2 separate regions of the Homo sapiens genome follow, and region 1 is linked to region 2. Evidence: promoter capture Hi-C in human tissues and cell types (Jung and others, 2019). All regions are on one chromosome and are shown on one strand. The core of a region is centred on a gene start or on the middle of the fragment in contact, and the rest is flanking DNA. Distances in the headings are between cores, read along the strand shown.

Region 1 (6,394 bases), core at 654-3,153, 45 kb before region 2:
ATCCTAGAGACTGTGAAGTGGTATCTCCTTGTAGTTTTGATTTTTATTTACTTAATGCACACCTGGAATTTAAACTCAAGCCTCAATTCCCAAGTCCCTGCTTTACCCACAATGCCAAAAAACAAGAGGAGCAATGATGTGGGGAAAGGGAATCTTCTACCATTCCCTCCTACTGTGTCTAGGGAGAGAGGGATTTGTTCAGATTCACTGTATGAAAACTCTATTGGACATAATGACAGTATGGGACAGTGTGTTATAGATGATACAAAAAGCTCAGGCCACAGCTTTTTGGGAAGTCTGTTTTTTAAATAGACTTTAAAAGATGAGGGCAGAGAGGATGACATGGAAATGTGGAACCAGTTCATTTAAGACACAATAGTAAAAAACAAAACAAAATCCATCATAGGGCTGGGCGTGGTGGCTCACGCCTGTAATCCCAGCACTTTGGGAGGCCGAGGCGGGCAGATCACGAGGTCAGGAGATCAAGACCATCCTGGCTAACATGGTGAAACCCCGTCTCTACTAAAAATACAAAATAATTAGCTGGGCATAGTAGCGGGCGCCTGTAGTCCCAGCTACTTGGGAGGGTGAGGCAGGAGAATGGCGTGAACCCAGGAGGCGGAGCTTGCAGTGAGCCAAGATCACGCCACTGCACTCCAGCCTGGGCGAGAGCGAGACTCTGCCTCAAAAAAAAAAAAACAAAAAACCATCATAGTACCAGATAGATGATAGACATTCATATCGCCAACAGAGCCAACAAGACAGTGATTTTCAGGGCACGTGCCTACCATTCCCTCCCTCCAGCCTTTTGGGGGAAGGCTCCCTGATGTAGGGCCACTATCCCTGCTTGAGTTGTGTCTAGTTCCTCAGGTTATGGGGGCAAAATCAGCACTGAGTACCACCACTCTCATGGCTGATAATTCCAGAGTAATGCATTTCATCATTATAGAAGTGAATTATGAGTCAATTCAAGTCTTTTTCAAAGGGCAAGTACCACGGTTTTTAACCTTTGAATCCTCAGTGCCTGGCATATAATAGGCTTCTATAAATGTTTGTTGAATTCATCCACCCATCTATCTATCCATCTAATCAACAAATATTTATTGAGCAACTACTTTGTGTCAGGCACTGTCATGGGCTTCAAGGACACAGTAGTGAATAAAACAACTAACATTTCCCTACCTGCATAACACTTACAATCTAGTGGATGAATGAACAAAGTCAACAAGTTTGTGTTTCAAACAATGAATTTGGAGGGAATTTGTAAGCTTTATATGCTACATAAAATAAGGGGTGATTGTCACAAAGAAGTAGCAACACCACTTATGTGGTGGCGTTGACTATGTGCTGTTCACTGTTCTAATACAATATAATAGCAATTTGATTCTCACCATAACCCTGGAGCAGGACGAGCCACAGACAAAACCTCTCAGACACTGAGTTGTAGAAGGAAGGGCTTTATTCAGCTGGGAGCATCGGCAAGCTACTGCCTCAAAATCCGAGCTCCCTGAATGCACAATTTCTGTCCCTTTTAAGGGCTCACAACACTAAAGATTTCACATGAAAGGGTCGTGATTGATTTGAGTAAGCAGGCGGTATGTGACAGGGGCTGCATGCACAGGTGGTCAGACAGAAACAGAACAGGGCAGGGAGTTTCATAATGTTCTTCTATACAATGTCTGGAATCTATGAATAACATCGGTTTCTAAGTTATGAGTTGATTTTTAACTACTGGCTTTAGGCCAGGCAGGCCCAAGCCAGGTTTCGGGCCTGGCGCCGGGCTGCCTGTCTTTGGTTTTACTTCCTTGTTGTTTTTTCTTAAAACAGGTACTGAGTATAAAACAATATAAGACAATATGAGAGGGTCTGTCTCTCTTCTGTCAACCCTATTAGGTGGGAGTTATTATTATTATCTCTGTTTTGTAGATGAGAAAACTGAGGCACAGAGAGGTTAAGTAACTTGTCCAGAATCACACAGCTAGCAGGTGGTAAAGCCAGAATCTGAACCCAGGCAAGCGGCCGCAATGCTTATGATCTTGACTGCGATGCTATGGTCCTTCTAAATGTACAGCGGATATGAATTTGGCATGAGTTGGATTTTGTGCTCTGAGATCTGGCTGCCACAGCTTTTATTCATTGGGTCCATTCTTCTTGGTGCATGCCTGAGAAATTTGGGTTGGCCACAAGCTAGCCAGCCCATTACAGTGGATACAAGAACAGTTTTTCAGGACCCACTCTGTCATCTGTCTGTCCCCATAGGGCTGTCCTCAGTCTGGGTGGCTCATGACCTCATGCCCTTGAAGCTGGCCTTCCCGGAGTACATTCCTTCTATCCCTCTTGATGCCTTTCTCCTAGGTAACTGTGTGGGAATCTGCACCCACCCCTGGCAGCCCCTGAGCAACCTCTTGGCTGTGGCAAGGGCTTGACAGTCAGGAACCTGGCTCCCCAAGCTCAGAGCCACTGCTTCCCATGTGTTTTAATTTCAGGTCTTTATAATAGAGGTTGCCCCTTCAACGATTAGGAGAGACACAAGATAGAAATAAAGGTTTTATTACTTACAGGTCTTGGGAAGTTCACGGCATGCCTAGAGCCCCTCCTCCACAACAGAGAGGGAATGATCAGGGGGTGCACAAAGAAAGAGAAAGTGGGGGGCCCCCTATGCATCAGGGCTTTTATTGAAGCCCAGGGCATTATCCATGCACATTTCCCATAGGGAATTTTAATTGGTGGGTTTAAATGCAAAAGAGCAAGCAGGCATGAGTTCCAGGAGGTCATGCTGTGACTGAGAGGGGGTCACTGTGGCATATCTGCAGTCTGTGTAGGGGGTGAAAGTTAGCGGGCTGAATAGGTTGTCTCTAGCTGTCCCGTGGGGAGGTGAGCACCAGGGAGCAGCTGTGTATGACATTGAAGGACGGCGGGGAGGTGTAGCAGGAGAGACTGTGTCAAGGATAACTGAGCCCTGCTTCTGGTGTGAGAAAAGTAAGCTTATATTTAAAATGGATGCCGAGGGTGGGTCACTTGAGGTCAGGAGTTCGAGACCAGCCTGGGCAACATGGTGAAACCCTGTGTCTACTAAAAATACAAAAATTAGCCAGGCATGGTGACGGGCACCTGTAATCCCAGCTACTCGGGAGGCTGAGGCAGGAGAATCACTTGAACCCAGGAAATGGAGGTTGCAGTGAGCCAAGATTGCACCACTGCACTCTAGCCTGGGTGACAGAGCGAGACTCCATCTCAACAAACAAACAAACAAACAAAAACAAAACCAACAACAAAAACCAAAATGGATCCTGAGGCAGCATAAATTATAAGAATTCACTACATTGTGCCCAGCCCCGTCAGCATCCCCATTGTGGGGCAGAGAGGGAGGTAGGCAGTGAGTGACTGGGGTTTGGTCACATTTACCCCCTGACCCTGGTGAGCTGTGAATTTCTTTGCAAAGGGCAGACCACCCAAGGCTGGTCTCAGTATCTTTGGCTCAGAAGCTGGAAGTACCCCCAAGCAGAAACCAGGAGCGAGGCCTCAGGAGCTGGAGAAATGCACCAAGGACCCTCAGAAATCCAAGAACCTAGGCTGCTAGAATGTTCTGCTAATCAGAAAGCTGGTAAGACTTGGTGTGCCTCACTCACGGCTCTACCCAACCTACTGCTTAGACCGGGGCCATGCACACAACAGGCCCTCTCAAAATACCTGCTGAATGAAAAGGCTGAAAAGTAGATCCTATCTAGTCCAATCTTCTTCTTTTCCAGGAAGGAGAAACTGAAATCTAGCAAGGAGAAGTGACTCGGCTAAGCTAGCATTTGTAGACAATAAATAGGAGAACCAGAGAACCAGGCCAGGCCACCGCTGTGCGCTTTAAAAGCATGGTTCTTTCCATGGCACCAGGTGGTGGCCCCAGGCGGTGGAGGTCGGCGGGATGCCTCTCCTGCTGGCATCCATGTTCAAAGTCCCTGTCCCCACCCTTGATCTCCAGGAACATCTGCTGATTCGCAGCCTAAATGAATAGTGGGAAGGCAGAGAGGAGCCAGTTCACCTTTGCGGTTAGAAGGGCTTTCATGAGAGGAGGGGAAAGAAGAGTGGAAAAGGGGGAATAACAGCAGCAGTAATAGTAACAGCTATGATATTTTTGGGGACCTACTTCTAGCCAAGTCCTGCAAATAAACAAAGCAAATAAGGGGAACTTTCTTTTTCTTTCTTTCTTTTTTTTTTTAGACAGTCTTGCTCTGTCACCCAGGCTACAGTGCAGTGGCGTGATCTCAGCTCACTGCAACCTCCACCTCCAGGGTTCAAGCAATTCTCCTGCCTCAGCCTCCCAAGTAGCTGGGATTACAGGCACCTGCCACCAGGCACGGCTAATTTTTTTTGTATTTTTAGTAGAGATGGGGTTTCACCGTGTTGGCCACGATGGTCTCGATCTCCTGACATCAAGTGATCTGCCCACCTCGGCCTCCCAAAGTACTAGGATTACAGGTGTGAGCCACCATGCCTGGCCTGGAAACTTTCTAAATAGATTTTTAAAAAATATATAAGTGGGTCCAGGAACCCCAGACATGACCTCAGCTGTCTAGTGCTCTGCGTAGCAGTGGCTAGCAAAGCTCCCACTGCCTGAATCATGGGCTGTCCATGGTCCTGGGGCACACAGCCACAGCACAAGCTGGTGGCCCTGGAAAGCCTCCCGTGAAAGGGAGCACCTGACCTGTACAGCCACACCACATGCAACTAAGTAGCTTCCTCTCATACTCCAAACCAGGTGGATAAGTGAGAGCTACCTCCCAGCACTGTAAACCACCCATGGGAACCTCCCACCAACTCACCTCCATGACACCCAGGGTTAAAGCTGATAAGGTCTCTGTCAGCCTGGTCTTTGAATGATTTAGAGGAGGAGAGTGCCCCGGTCTATAGTTAATTGAAATGTGATGAAAGGGTCTCCTTAGCATGGCACACAGCAGACATTCAGCACATGGGAGTTCCCTTTCTGCCCCTACTCCCCAAACCAAAGTCTACTTCCAAGAAAGATGATGGCCTTGCATCTTCTTCTCCCAGGGAATTAGCAATTTAATTGAAGAGTCTTAGAAATCATAGCCCAAAGCCTCAAAGAAATGCATTTCAAAGATAATTAGGGAATATAATAAAAACCACTGAATGGTACACTTAAGAAAAATTGAAATGTCTTGACATTTTTCTGCTGATATATGAAAGAATCTGAATAAAAGTTTTCCCCAGTTTGCTAACAATTCTTGTTGCTGGAAAGGGGTCTTGATCCAGACTCCAAAAGAGGGTTCTTGGATATCGCACAAGAAAGAACTTGGGGCGAGTCCATAGAGTAAAATGAAAGCAAATTTATTGAGTAAGTAAAGAAACAAAAGAGTGGCTACTCCATTGGCAGAGCAGCCCCAAGGGCTGCTGGTTGGCTATTTTTGTGGTTATTTCATGGTCATATGCTAAACAAGGGGTGGATTATTCATGAGTTTTCCAGGAAAGGGGCAGGCAATTCATGGAACTGAGGGTCCTTTTTTAGATCATATAGGCTAACTTCCCGATGTTGCCAAGGCATTTGTAAACTGTCATGGCGCTGGTGGGAGTGTCTTTTGGCATGCTAATGCATTATAATTAGTGTATAACGAGCAGTAAGGACAACCAGAGGTCATTTTCCTAATCATCTTGGAGATGGTTTTGGGTGACTTCTTTACCGTATCCTGTTTTGTTAGCAGAGTGTTTATGAACTATCTTGTGCTGACCTCCTATGTCATTCTGTGGCTAAGAATGCCTAATCTCTGGGGATTGCAACCCAGCAGGTCTCAGCCTCATTTTCACAGCCCCTATTCTAGATGGAGTCACTCTGGTTCAGATGCTTCTGACATTCTGAAGGTGTGGATGATAATACTGATAATAAATTGTGAAGCTGAAAGGAACTTCTCTAAACTATCAATGATAAAAAAAAAAAACCCCACCAAAATTTGACTAAAAAAAGGTAATTAGGAGAGATGCTTAGGGACAGACAAGCTTTCAGAAGGGAGGGCCCTCAAGACTCCAGAAATGGAAGAGCTTCACTTACTTCAAAGTGACAAGAGCTTTCTGAGTTAGCCACCTTTTCTGGAGAAGGGCAAACTTGGGATGAGGCAGGTGTATTAGTTCATTCTCACACTGCTATAAAGAACTATCTGAGACTGGGTAATTTAAAAAGAAAAGTGGTTTAGTTGACTCACAGTTCCACAGGCTGTACAGGAGGCATGGCTGGGGAGGCCTCAGGAAACATACAATCATAGCAGAAGGGCAAAGGGGAAGCAAGCATGTATTCACATGGCAGTAGAAGAGAGAGAGTGAAGGGGGATGTGCTACACACTTTTAAACAACCAGATCTTGTGAGAACTCACTCACTATCATGAGAACAGCA
Region 2 (6,241 bases), core at 2,102-4,601:
CAGACTGGAGTGCAGTGGTGCAATTTCGGCTCACTGCAACCTCCGCCTCCCGAGTTCAAGCGATTCTTATACCTCAGCCTCCCGAGTAGCTGGGATTACAGACATGTGCCACCATGCCCAGTTAATTTTTGTATTATTAGTAGAGATGGGGTTTCACCACGTTTGCCAGGCTGGTCTTGAACTCCTGACCTCAGGTGATCCCACCGCCTCAGCCTCCCAAAGTGCTGGGATTACAGGAGTGAGCTACCATGCCCAGCCTTCTTTTTCATCCTCACATATAACCCTTCGAGGTAGGCAGGGAAGTTTCTGGCTTTATTTTGATTGTATAAATGAAGAAACACATCAAATCAAAGATACCTAAGGTTCCTTTTAAGTTTGAGGTTCTGTCTGTGCAGAGCCTTTTCCTAAATTTGTAATGCCAGGGGCCAAGTTTTCTGGAAGTGGTGCAAAAGTTTGTGAACAATGTGGAAATGGCCAGAGAGAACTGGGCAAAGGCCTGGGAATGTCTATTTCTGGTGGATGGTAGCACTCTCTCAGTGCTTACCAGCCAGGCCATTCAGGGAGGAGGTGAGAGACTGGGGATTGTAGGAAGGAAAGGATATTGACATCAACACTGAGAGTTTCTGATGATTCCTGACTAAGCCGAGGCTTTGGACAGCACAGAAGTTGCTAAAAGCTTCAATCAGCAGAGGCAGGGGTGATGAAGAGAGCAGGAGATGGCATCTGAGGGGCCTCCAAGCACCCTCTCCAAAGATGCTGAGGTGATGAAGGTGATGATGGAGGAGAAAAAGCTATAGATCCTGCAGTTGGGGTGACAGAAGTCACGGCCATCGGCTGCTTACCAGTAGACCCCAGACTGGCATTTCAGGGGAATCCAGGCTGTAGGGAATGTCTAAGAAGGCCCCAGAGGGGATTTGCTGGTTTGCAAAATTTCAATTTTGTGGGTGAGGGAATCCATTCTGGAGGTTTCATATCCCACTGGGGAGACAGTCCTATCCTTTGCTGCCCTTTTTATGTTCTGGGTGTTTTATTTTTAAATTTCAAATCTTGGCCTTGATTTAAGGAATGTCCTTAACTTTCTTGGCATTGCTGAGGCACAAAAGCAGCAAACTACAGCCATTGAGAGGCTAATAAAGGAACCTCAATGCCATAGTCACCTTCCTGCGCATCCCCACAGCACTTCTGGGTCCCGCTCCCCCAACCCAGTACCAGAAAAGGCCCAGGGCCTTTGCATGCTTGGGTCTGGTGTGGCAGGGATGCATTCAGAGTGGCTGAACACAGAGGCCGAGGTTGGAGGTACTATGGGATGGTATGGAGAGGAGGCTCAGACAATTCCATTTTCTGGAGCACACTTTCTGCAGCTCCCTTTTACATACACTTCTTTTTGAGAACCAAATACTCAAGAACTCTTACCTCATTCCATTTTCTCCTTTGACTTTGGCCTTGACTCTTTCTTAGTGGATGTGTACTCTAAACCCAATGAATGTATTCCGAATCAAGCAAGAGAGAAGCTTCAAACATCCTCTTCAGCCTCTCTGCCCAGCTCAGCCTCCCTTGCTCGCTCTTCCTTCCAGAGACCTCCAAGGACAAGGGCAGGGCTGATCTGACTCTCACGGAGACAGCCTCAGGTGTAAAGCTAAGGATGCTAACTTGGGCCTTTTCCATGGGAAGAGCTGAAAGGAACCTGAGAATTCCAATTAGGCTTAAACTAATGAGCTGGAAACTTTGGGGAAACCACTGCAGCAATGAGGGAAGAGCGTGATCATCCTCGATTTAATTAGCGCTGGAAAAACTTGGGGTCCAGCTGGTAGCACGAGGACGGACGCTGTTCAGGGGGCGCAAAGTTTCTGAAAGTGTCAGAAGGGGGATTCCCCTGGTGGTGTACGGAGACACGCTACGGAACAAACACGGACTCCTTCTTCATCTTAAGTGGGGAGAAGGGAAGACCCTAAATGGGGAACGGTGAGCCAGAATGAAGTCTGGAGTCCCTCTTCCCCCATCTGCCCTCCTCACGGGATGGATGGAGTCTGAGACTATATGAGAGGAAAGCAACCCTTCAGGGAACTCTATTGTCTATCGGGGCCTGCACTATCCCCAGGCCAGGTCGTCCTTGATCATTTCTGCCTACTCTTTGTTGGGCAGCCTCTGTTGCTAATAAGGAAAAAGGAGAGAAACCACCTGCTGCTGTCAGAGGCCACAGACCACCCGCTGGCCTTCCTGACTCTACCCTCCAGCCACACGCGGGACCCTGGGCACATAGGTAGCAGGAAGAGCGAAGTAGGGGTGGGTAGCTGTGTGTATCCTGGCGTGGGGTCCTCCTCACTCCCGAAGCCCGAGGGTCCTGGGGAGCTCAGCCTGTGGAATCCAGTTGACAGCTGGCCACTCCTCCCCTCCCCACTGGGGGCTCTTTGGGGAAAAAAACGGCCTGACCGGGGCGCCCCGCCGTCCTCCCAGTGTACCCCACCGCTCTCGGCTGGGGGCGCAGCACCTTGGAGAGAGGCGCCTGGCCCCGCGCCTGGGCTGGGGGCGCTCTACCTTGCGCCCTGGGGGTCAGGGGCGCTTGCCGGGCCGCTGCCGAGGGGCCCTGCCCACCCCTGCCCAGCCCGGAGCCCAGGCGAGCCAGCGCGGCGAGCCTCCTCCCCTCCCGCCTGGGTCGTCCTGAGTCCGCGCCCGCTCCAGTTGCTGCAGCTGCTGCTGCTGGCGGCTGCGGGGAGCGCGGGGCGCGCGCCGAAGAGGCTTGGGCGGCGAGGACGGGGACGAGGAGGAGTCGGAGGCGGCAAGGAGGAAGAGCGAGCGGAGGCCGAGGGGCTCAGCGGCGTGGCGACAGGACTAGGGGGTCCCGAGAACATGGGCTAGCAGGCGGCCACGGGCCGGCGGCCGGACGCGGTGAACCTGCCGCGGCCGGGCGCGCACTGGCGCGGCGAGCCGGAGCCGAGCGCAGCCGGGGGAGGAGGGCTGGCGCAGGGGCGCCCGGGCGGAGGGGGCCGATTATCCATTATTAACGAGTTACCACCTAATAAGCGGAGAGCGGCTCGTTAGCCGCGCGGGAGGCGCTCGGGGAAGGGGGTCACCGGCCGAGCGCAGCGCACACCCGTGGCGCACGGCGGGCGGCGCGGCGCCGAGGACACCCGGGACCGCGCGCGGAGCCGGGGCGGGCCCGGGGGCGGCGCAGACCCCGGGCGCGGGCGGCCCGCGGCGCCCCCTGGCTCTCGGCGCTCGGGGCCAGCGCAGCCCGGGGCGAGCGGGGCGCGGGCCGGGGAGGGGGAGCTGCCCGCGCACTCCATCCCCCTCCCCCCCGGGCGGGCGGCGGCGGCTCGCTGTATATATCTCGGCGCACCCCGCCAGGTCGCGCACAGCGCCCCGAGCCCAGGCGCCTCCCCGCCCCCCTCCCGCGCTCCGCGGCGGCGGCGGCGGCGGCAGCAGTAGCAGCAATATGGCTGTTGATGGGTGTTTGGGGTGGCGCTGGCGGCGGGAGGAGCTCCCCCGAGCCCCTGCGCCGGCTGCCCGTTGCTAGCTATGGCAAATGGTGGCGGCGGCGGCGGCGGCAGCAGCGGCGGCGGCGGCGGCGGCGGAGGCAGCAGTCTTAGAATGAGTAGCAATATCCACGCGAACCATCTCAGCCTAGACGCGTCCTCCTCCTCCTCCTCCTCCTCTTCCTCTTCTTCTTCTTCCTCCTCCTCTTCCTCCTCGTCCTCGGTCCACGAGCCCAAGATGGATGCGCTCATCATCCCGGTGACCATGGAGGTGCCGTGCGACAGCCGGGGCCAACGCATGTGGTGGGCTTTCCTGGCCTCCTCCATGGTGACTTTCTTCGGGGGCCTCTTCATCATCTTGCTCTGGCGGACGCTCAAGTACCTGTGGACCGTGTGCTGCCACTGCGGGGGCAAGACGAAGGTAACGCGCGCCCCGGGCGCCCGCCCTCTGCGCCAGCCCCACCGCTTCTCGGCGTCCCCTGCAGCCCACCTCCTCGCTCCGCGCCGCGCCGTGCCTCCCTCCATCCCCGCCTGCCTTCCCCTCGCCGCCTTCCCTTCCCTCGGCTCTCCCGGTGCTCTCGGATCGGGGCAGCGGGCGGCGCGCCGGGGGTGAGGAGTTGCCCCCAGCCAGTGCGCTCCGGGACGCGGACGCTCAATCCTGTCCTCTTGTTTATTGTAGGGTTGTTGGCGGCTGCGGCTGGGGCCGGGGTCGGGGACTCACAGGCTCGGGTGCCGTGGTGCGGGGTGGGGACAGCCAACTCAGCGGGGACGGAGGAAGCTGGGGGCAGCTGGGTGCGTGTTTTGCACCGCTCACCTGCCGGGGCTCGGCTCCTGGCGGTGGGCGAGAGGGAGCACATCCGCCCATACTTTAGGAACCTGTTGGGGAGATGAGTTCGTGGGGTCAGAAAGAAGGGAAAAATCCTTTGGGCAAGGGAGAGAATAATTTTGCACAAGGGAATCCCGGGGGAGGAGCATGGCCCGAGATAACAGGGGGACTTCGAGGGGCGAGAGAAGTTGGGGAGATCCATCCCACTATTGGGGGTAGCCCACGGGGCTGCCACTTTTGGAATGTGTCGAGGTCGCATATCTGATGTAACCTCCCACTCCGTCCCTTAGGTGCTCTAGTGGAACATACCCCAAGTTCTTCGGCCTCTGTTCCTTTGCCCCCAGGCCACCCACTTTGGGTCCCCGGAAATGCCACCAGCAGCGCGGAGCTGGAGCGGGAGTCCGCCTGAGGCCGCGGTTTTACGCGGAGCGTCTTCCCTGGCGCTCGAGGTGGCTAGATGTCGTCGGCTTTAGCTATTCCTGGTGCAGACGCCCACCGGCACTGAGGCTGGCGACACCTTCGATGTATGGTTGCTAGGCTCACTGCCTGGTCTGTAGTCGTGTCCCTAGAGATGTCTTCCCTTCCCCACAGCCACTGGCTGGAGTGGGGGACCCGACACTGATAGAAAACTGCAGAATAAAAAAGAAAGAACTGGAAAAAAGAGAGTGAGCCAGCTGCCTTCTTTCTGAGTAATTCCCATCCTAGGGGACTTCACGCGCGAACCGTTTTGGAGGGAAGGGAAATCCAGGGGAATAGTGCAGGGTAGATACACATTGCAGCCTCCACATGTTCACATCTTTTCTAGTAAAGTTAAACCGAGGACCCCTCAAACTTCTACAGGGCACAGCAACTTGTAGCAGCCTCCTTGGCGGCTGAGAGAAGTAGGGAAGCCTGGGGCTATGGGTGAAGGCTGGCTATGAAAACACCAGGGGGGAAGGAGCCTGTCTCTCCTGATCATTAATTATACATCCTGTTGGGTGCTGGAGCTCAGCTGTGTTTTGTGGCAGCACATTTGTGTTTTGGAAAATACTGGTGTATTGGAACAAAGGGAGAAATATGAAAACCATCATTCTCTTCGTCATTCTCTGGCTTCTCCGGAGGCCTGCAGGTGCTGGTCGGAGAGTTTTCTTTGGAATTACCTTCTCAGCCGTAGAGGTTTCTTCTTATTTGTTAAGGAGGCAAACCTCCCACCTTCCAGAGAAGCCCTCAGGTTAAGCAAAGCCCTATACACCAGATCCCTGACTAGCCTTCCTGCTGAGAACAGCTTATTCCTGGAGCCTTCAAATTCCCACATTCCCTCTCTCCATCCTTCTCCTCCACCTCCCCCAACAGTCTCGGGAATTTTGTTCCCCGGTTTACTGAGATTCAGCGACTGTCTTTAGGGGAAAGATAGCTCATAGTTGTGTGCCTCTGAAATGTTCCCTAGATAGAGTGATCTGGGTGAACTTTTTAACAGCTTGCTTTCTTTCAGGCAGGGGGCAATTTTTATCATAATGAAAACTTTTTCCATGATTGAAAATAAGTTGTGGTGTTTTTGTGAACCTGGGGTCCTAAACACAGCTTCCAAAGTCTTTTTATGTTAGGGGGTACATAAATGCAATTGCAGTGTCTGTAATGAAATGCTAATCCCATCGCACACACAAAGGATCTCCTAAATGATGAGCAAGCATAACTTCTGTCAGTTTACTCAAGAAAATAGGTTTTTGGCAACGATTAGAAAAAACAATTCGTAAATATTTGGCTATGTTTTGTAGCCCCAAGACCTGCTGAGTGGACATAACTGGAAGTGAGTTGCTGTAAGAAATCTGCCAGGGATGAGAGGTGATGGTGGTTTGTTTGGAAGATGTGAGGCCAGTATAGAATGAGTGCAGGTTCCTTTTGATACCGTAAGTCCATTTTAAAGCACACCTAGAATCTCTTGATACCTGCCCCTAGATTTGCT

The links. Contacts are between HindIII fragments. The study calls those that stand out against the background at their distance.
Region 1: a contact is called between a fragment that was not itself captured here and the fragment with the promoter of KCNMA1 in region 2, in 1 of the 25 tissues and cell types used here (bladder).

The regions. Positions count from the first base shown.
Region 1 is chr10:77,678,494-77,684,887 of GRCh38, reverse strand. No RefSeq gene overlaps it. Among named protein-coding and RNA genes, the nearest start is that of KCNMA1, 44 kb to the right of the region's middle. The HindIII fragment of the contact is 5,183 bases long and covers 1-4,494 here.
Region 2 is chr10:77,634,918-77,641,158 of GRCh38, reverse strand. It overlaps KCNMA1 (potassium calcium-activated channel subfamily M alpha 1), which reads left to right and starts at 3,351. Exons shown (of 28, transcript NM_001161352.2): 1 at 3,351-3,894. The coding sequence starts at 3,517. The HindIII fragment of the contact is 5,846 bases long and covers 1,095-6,241 here.